Linked DNA regions of Homo sapiens: region 2 is linked to region 1. Evidence: promoter capture Hi-C in 16 types of primary human blood cells and fetal thymus (Javierre and others, 2016). All regions are on one chromosome and are shown on one strand. The core of a region is centred on a gene start or on the middle of the fragment in contact, and the rest is flanking DNA. Distances in the headings are between cores, read along the strand shown.

Evidence for each region. The method cuts DNA at HindIII sites, captures the fragments that hold promoters and counts their contacts. A CHiCAGO score of 5 or more calls a contact.
Region 2: a contact is called between a fragment that was not itself captured here and the fragment with the promoter of OR2S2 in region 1, in 1 of 17 cell types (endothelial precursors). The highest score is 5.9, in endothelial precursors.

Annotation. Positions count from the first base shown.
Region 1 is chr9:35,955,996-35,959,939 of GRCh38, reverse strand. It overlaps OR2S2 (olfactory receptor family 2 subfamily S member 2), which reads left to right and starts at 1,786. Exons shown (of 1, transcript NM_019897.2): 1 at 1,786-2,832. The coding sequence starts at 1,842. The coding sequence ends at 2,801. The HindIII fragment of the contact is 3,590 bases long and covers 1-3,452 here.
Region 2 is chr9:36,186,007-36,189,996 of GRCh38, reverse strand. No RefSeq gene overlaps it. Among named protein-coding and RNA genes, the nearest start is that of CLTA, 2.9 kb to the left of the region's middle. The HindIII fragment of the contact is 2,236 bases long and covers 183-2,418 here.

The DNA.
Region 1 (3,944 bases), core at 537-3,036:
CAACTCAGGGTAGAAGGTGCTATTGGCAACTGATTGGTGGAGGTCAGAGACTCTGCTAAACATCCTACAATGCACAGGACAGCCCTCACACCAAAGGGTTATCCAGCACAAAATGTCAATCGTAAAGAATTTGAGAAACCCTGAGTTCCATTTAGGGTGGGAGGTGCACTGCCTGACAACACATCTGACATAAACCCTCCCCCATGACTGAAGAGAGAGTGTTGGACAGACAGTGAGACTGGCCAGAGAATACACAGAGCTAATTGAGATCATAACAGTGTGTACAAGTTTGACTTTGTCCTTTTAATTTATCATTATGCTATAGCAATATTAGCACAGAGAAAATTATAAATAGGACTATAAGATCTGTCTAATATTGGAGGGACAGAATCTTTTGCAAAGCTGTGCACCAAAAGAGAAAAGCAGCTGTTTCGTGAAAGAACTCAGGACTAGGTCTTGGAATCCAACTCCAGCTCTGCCATTCAACCCCAAGGAGCAAATTTATCTTCTGAGCTCCAGTTACTTCACCTGTAAAACCTGAATGATAATATCTTCTCCATGAGCTGTTTCAAGAAATATGGCACAGCTTATATTCCTTAATATTAGTGAGAATCCCTAATATTCTCACTAATATTAATATTAACCACTCATCTTCCATCATCCACCCACTCTTATACACACTCATAGAGCCACTGTCATTAAGAAGGAGCTATCAAAATATTATCTATGAGTACTTTGAATTTAGAGTCAGGGAAATTGCAAGTAAGAGACTAGATATCCTCTATACAAAGGCATATAAGTCTTCCTATAAGCCAGCTGCTTGCATAGAACTCAAGAATGGAGTCAGAGAGTCAGAAGATAATGCAAGAATAAAATGCAAACATAAAAGGACAAAGAAAAAACATTCTTAGTCATTCACGGTTAGGAATTTCACAGACATCCTAATGAGATGGGATCAGAAGTTAATGCCATATACTCTACTATCGATAACTATAGTTAGAGTGTGGTTATTAATATTGCATTAACTAACTGGTAAGCTACACAGTGTTGTCTCATGGTGTGAGTTCAGTCACTCCAACAAATCCATTTGTTGGCTTCATAAATTTCCCAGCTATAGGACCTCCCCATATATTGCAATAAATCCATATTTCAAATAGGCAGATCTATTCCTGTCAATGCTCAAGCCTGTGTCACTAGACTGAAGAAGTAATGCTCTTTATGGCTGAATATTAACTAGGCTTGTTTCTGTGTGAATATGGTTGAACAATTTTGCGCAATTTCCTCCCCACGTGTAATCAAAGTTTAAAGAAACTTAATCACTTGCTAGGTCCAAGAATTGCATCTTCTTGGGAATTTTCCTCTCTGAGAATCTAAGAAAGCCCAGATCAAATGAAATTGCTGTGGATTTGCATTAAAGAGAAATAATTCATAGCATTTCCTAGCACTTAATCACAATGAAGAGGAAAAGCCCTCCTTGGGCCAGGGATATGCTCTGCTGGGTTCAAGTCTTGTCTCTGTCACCAACTTGCTCAGAAGATTTGGACAGGTCACTTCTCCTCCCCAGGCCTCTATCACCTTTGTGGACACTGAGAGGGTGCAGCAACTTCAGAAAAATCCCTCATGCACAACCGGACATTTGAGGCCCTCACCCACTACCTGTCCAGCTCTGACCTTCTGTCTTCTAAGACACCCCCTACTGTCTCTTTCCGTCATTTTTCTCTTGCACAGATATGTTCTTCTATTATGCAATGGGAACTTGACCACATATTAGATGCCTAGGACTCTTCCCAAAAAGCCTGATGCGCTGCTCAGTACTTTGCTGATGGCAGAGGGGATATCACATGGAAAAAGCCAATGAGACCTCCCCTGTGATGGGGTTCGTTCTCCTGAGGCTCTCTGCCCACCCAGAGCTGGAAAAGACATTCTTCGTGCTCATCCTGCTGATGTACCTCGTGATCCTGCTGGGCAATGGGGTCCTCATCCTGGTGACCATCCTTGACTCCCGCCTGCACACGCCCATGTACTTCTTCCTAGGGAACCTCTCCTTCCTGGACATCTGCTTCACTACCTCCTCAGTCCCACTGGTCCTGGACAGCTTTTTGACTCCCCAGGAAACCATCTCCTTCTCAGCCTGTGCTGTGCAGATGGCACTCTCCTTTGCCATGGCAGGAACAGAGTGCTTGCTCCTGAGCATGATGGCATTTGATCGCTATGTGGCCATCTGCAACCCCCTTAGGTACTCCGTGATCATGAGCAAGGCTGCCTACATGCCCATGGCTGCCAGCTCCTGGGCTATTGGTGGTGCTGCTTCCGTGGTACACACATCCTTGGCAATTCAGCTGCCCTTCTGTGGAGACAATGTCATCAACCACTTCACCTGTGAGATTCTGGCTGTTCTAAAGTTGGCCTGTGCTGACATTTCCATCAATGTGATCAGCATGGAGGTGACGAATGTGATCTTCCTAGGAGTCCCGGTTCTGTTCATCTCTTTCTCCTATGTCTTCATCATCACCACCATCCTGAGGATCCCCTCAGCTGAGGGGAGGAAAAAGGTCTTCTCCACCTGCTCTGCCCACCTCACCGTGGTGATCGTCTTCTACGGGACCTTATTCTTCATGTATGGGAAGCCTAAGTCTAAGGACTCCATGGGAGCAGACAAAGAGGATCTTTCAGACAAACTCATCCCCCTTTTCTATGGGGTGGTGACCCCGATGCTCAACCCCATCATCTATAGCCTGAGGAACAAGGATGTGAAGGCTGCTGTGAGGAGACTGCTGAGACCAAAAGGCTTCACTCAGTGATGGTGGAAGGGTCCTCTGTGATTGTCACCCACATGGAAGTAAGGAATCACAATCACATCAGCTGCCATTCAAAAGCCAAGTCATGTGACCTATAATGGTTTCTCACTCTAAGTCCATTTGCAGGAGATATTAAACTTTTCAGACGATATCTCCTGAGTTTTAGTCCTATGTCTGACAGCTTCAACAGACACCAGACTCAATAAATAATCAACTGTGATGAAGGCATTCTGAACATACGGTAAAACCACACGAGACAGCAGCCATGAAAGCATGACGCATGGCCCTTAGAGTGTCTCAGCTCTAGAGTTAGAACAGGGACGTGAGAATGTTCTCACAGCAACTTACCAGCCCTACTGGATTCACCAGGGAAATCAGAGAAATAAGGAGGGAGTGGAAACTTTTACTGAGGCTTCAGTTTATTACACTCAGTTTGCCTGAATGGCTAAGAAAAGGTAAGTTCTTCACTTAGGGAGCTTTTAGTTGTGAATAATCTATTTTGATGACTGAATATCTTTTTAGCTATGAGAAAATTTAGGCTATTTTTTCCTGATGCACTGCAGATCATTGAACACCACCTAGTAAATTAAATAAAATTCAAGGAGTAATGAGTTCAAATTTGACGTTCTTACAGAATTTCACAACAGCAAAGCTTGTATTCTGATAGATGCCAAATCATGTTCTAGAAAAAAGATGATGGTAGATAGATATAGATAGAAGTAGACAGATGGTGGCTACACATGTTTGAAGACTTTGGGTCTAATTTCTTTTTTTTTTTTTTTTTTGAGACAGAGTCTCGCTGTGTCACCCAGACGAGAGTACAGTGGTGCAGTCTCGGCTCACTGCAACCTCTGCCTCCCAGGTTTAAGCAAGCCTCATCCCTCAGCCTCCTGAGTAGCTGGGACTACAGGCATACACCACCATGCCCGGCTAATTCTTGTATTTTTAGTAAAGACAGGGTTTCACCATTTTGGCCAGGCTGGTCTCAAACTGCTGGCCTCAAGTGATCCGCCCGACTCAGCCTCCCAAAGTGCTGGGATTACAAGCGTGAGCCACAGTGTCCTAGCCTATGGGGCTAAATTTTCATAGGTTTCTTTGTTCCAAGACTTCTCAGAGCCTTTATTATGCAAAGGTCCACTGTGAATG
Region 2 (3,990 bases), core at 51-2,550, 230 kb before region 1:
ACATGGCTCATTTTGTCTACACCACAGAAATAACAGTGGTTCCAGTTAATCATGCTCATGTTGAGGGGGAGTGCTTATGCAGGGGCCACCAGAAGACCCCTCTCCTTCACTACCACCACCACCACCCTAAGAAATGAAAAGCCAAAAAAAGAAACCAAAAAACCAGAGGTCAACAAGAAGCTTCCAGAGGTAGTCAGCAGGGGACAAGAAAGTGTTTTTATAAAAAACGCACATATCTTTGATGACAAAAAAAAAGGGATAGCTATGAAGGAAAAATGAAGCAAATAAAAATTATTTAAAGCATATATTTACTTAAAGCATAATTTTAAAGTCATTTAAAGTATGAACCATAGGAAAGTGTTGAAGAAAAACATTTAAGAAAGTTAAAATGTTAGGGTCTGCAATTGATTCTGTTTCCCCTTGTCTGTTGTTTTATGCTCATCCCTAACATACATTGGCAACAGTGCATGAAGTATTTTCACATTAGCCTTGACATAGTCTCATGAGGAAAAGAGGGGCAGGGACTACTATGAGAGAGCCCAAGGAAGACAACTTTTAGTTGCTCACAACAGTAGTAGCTCCGGAACAGACAGCATTCTTTTTGGGGAAATGCATGACTTTGGGAGAAACTCTCCTGTGATTCCCTTGCTAGAGGAGGCATTACATATTATGCAAAAGCAACAAACAAGTATACACTCAAAATTGGAGGAATAGCTGATGTGTTTACGGATGATTTCACAGAGGTGGCTTGGAGCTCAGTTTTGAAATATGGGGAACGTTTAGAAGAGTCAATAATGAGGGTCTAATGTTAGTGTCATGTAAAAGTTCAGAGGTGGGAAAATGTTTGGCATGTTTTGGGGACAGTGAGTAAATTAGTTGGAGTCTGAAGAGCTCAGCAAGATGAATAATTGAAGGAAAATCTGGGGACAGATTCTGGAGCCCTGAAAGCATTCCATGTTAAGGAATCTTAATGGCAATAAGGAACCATAGAAGGTTTCAGATAAAGGAATGTTTTGATCAACTGCTGCTTAGGAGGTTAATCGGGTCCCTGGTTGCAGGATGGATGGGGCAGAGGCTGTGGGCAGAGATGTCAGGAGTGACATGATGAAGGTCTGGGCAGGGCAGAGGTATGGAGCTGAGTGGGGAGCGTTGATGGGAAAGCGGGTCCCAGTAGGGAAGTGACTAACTTGGTGACCGACCAGAGGTACGGGCTGGGAAAAAGGCAAGGGGAAAGGATGGGGTCATAAATCATGAATCTGTGAAATTGCCAGAACCATTAGTTTGAGGGCTTTGGGGGAGCCCAGGTGATTGCTGGGAGACAGAAGATTTAGAAGATGTCCAGGAACTAGAAGTGTGTAGCCTGCCATGATCCCTGGTGGACTGAACAAAGGTGGGTGGGCAATGGGAATAAAAGACAAGACAAAAGAGTATATTTGGAAGAAGGGGTCAGGGGGCACTTTGCCTCTAGTGGACAAGGGCCCTGAGTTTTACACATCCCTCCGTATTTCGTAGGCAAAAGAGAGCGAGAAAGGGGGGGTGATTGTCGGTAATTGTCAGTTAGAGGTTTGGTTCACAGCAGGCTTGTGAGACTGCATCTTTTGAACAATAGGTGCTAGATTTCTTAGATAACTTCAAGGAGCCCTGCACCAAGGAGTGATGTCCATCAGCAAACCTTTTGGTGGCAGGTGCAGTGTGTTTGCTCACATCCTACATTCATGATAAACAGTTTGCTGTTTGATCATATAGCCTCCAGTGGAATGCTGAGTTGGTCACGATCCCTTTGGCCTTTTCGGCTCCCAACAGAAGTGTGTATAGGAGAGAGTGGGACCACAGATGGAGACTAGAGAGGGAAGGACTGAGGCCTAAATCTTGGAGGATGGCTATATGTGAAGGAGGTAGAGGGGTGGGTCAGAGAGATTGGAGAGGGTTCAGTTAGAGCTGGGTGATGGAAGTCAAGCAGAGTTTGCAGAAGGAAGGAGTGACTAGCAGAAAGGTGAAGAATGAGAGCTGAGCAGATGCTCTTGGCCATCAAGTTCCCTGGTCACCTTGGTGAGAGAGATGTCAGTGGATGCCAGGAGTGGAAATCAGTTTGCACTAGGTTGAGGGATGGAAGCATAGTGGACATCTGTTGGTTCTGCCTGCCTACATCCAATTCCCTTTGTTCTGATACCAGCACTCCAATATTCCTTTGGGGAACCATTCTTCCTCATTTTCAGTTTTGTGGTTTGGATTGAGTGGACCACCCCCATGTGACCCAGGCCTGGCCAATTAGAACATCCCATTCCCTGCCCAAATGATTGGGAATGGACAAGTGAGTCAAACCAGGCTCATGAGGCTCAATTCCAGGACTGTTACTAGAATCTTAGGGAAAGAGCTAACTCTTTCTGCTGGAGCTGACAAGCAGGCAAAGTGTAAGCTTAGAGCTTCTTGTGGTCATCTTGTCATCAAGAGGAGAGATTGAGAGTGAGAATGAGGTCAACATGGAGGAATGCAGAGAGTGAGAAAGACAACTTCCTGTTGGTATCATTGAGGACCTGGATTCAGCCATGCTTGAAGTGAAAGATCTACTTCTGTACTTTTTGGCTCTGTGAACAAATAAATTCTATTTTTTTTCCCCTTAAGACAATTTTGAGTTGTGTTTCTGTCATAAAGAATTCTGCCTAATCCAGGCCAGGCACAGTGGCTCACGCCTATAATCCCAGCACTTTGGGAGGCCAAGATGGGTGGACCATTTGAGGTCAGGAGTTCGAGACCAGCTTGGACAACATTGTGAGACCCCGTCTCCACTAAAAATACAAAAATTAGCCAGGCATGGTAGTGTGCACCTGTAATTCCAGCTACTCAGGAGGCTGAGGTAGGAGAATCGCTTGAACCCAGGAGGCGGAGGTTGCAGTGAGCCGAGATCACGCTGCTGCACTCCAGCCTGGGCAACAGTGTGAGACTCTGTCTCAAAAAAAAAAAAAAAAAAAAAAGAATTTTGCCTAATATAGAATGAGAAGTGAGGGCAAATTTAAATGTAGAAGACATTAGAAAACTTTGCAGCCGGGCACCGTGGCTCACACCTGTAATCCCAACACTTTGGGAGGCCGAGGAGGGTGGATCATCTGAGGTCAGGGGTTCGAGACCAGCCTGACCAACATAAAGAAACCCCGTCTCTACTAAAAATACAAAATTAGCTGGGTGTGGTGGCACATGCCTGTAATCCCAGCTAACTCGGGAGGCTGAGGCAGGAGAATCACTTGAACCCAGGAGGCGGAGGTTTGCGGTGAGCCGAGATCACGCCATTGCACTCCAGTCTGGGCAACAAGAGTGAAACTCCGTCTCAAAAAAAAAAAAAAAAAAAAAAAAAAGGTTTGCAATGAGGGCCGGGCATGGTGGCTCATGCCTATAATCCCAGCACTTTGGGAGGCTGAGGCGGGCAGATCACTTGAGGCCAGGAGTTTAAGATCAGCCTGGCCAACATGGCAAAAACTCACCTCTACTAAAAATATAAAAATTAGCCGGACATGGTGGCATGTGCCTGTAGTCCCGGCTATTGGAGAGGCTGAGGCATGAGAATTGCTTGAACCTGGGAGGTGGAGGTTGCAGTGAGCTGAGATCATCCCACTGCACTCCTGCCTGGGTACAGAGTGAGACTCCATCTCAAAAAAAAAAAAGGAAAGGGGAAAGGAGGAAAGGAGGGAGAGCTGTGGCTAGAGAGGGCTCTAAGGTTGGGGTGATGTTTAGGTAAGAGAGACTTGAATGCTTGAATACATTTGTATGCCGAAGATAGAGGTTGAAGTCATAGAAGAAGGAGAGGTGGTGGGAAGGATGGGCTAAGGAGGGAGGATTTTAGAGGCAGAGACAAGGCTGAGGACAACTCTGAGGGACTCAATTGCTCCAGTAAAGTGAGAACCAGTAGAAAAGAGAGGAGAGGTTTAGAACCACCAAGGGGAAACTCAATAGATGATGGCCAAGAAAGACCTAGAAGGACTGTATTGTTCTAGTCAG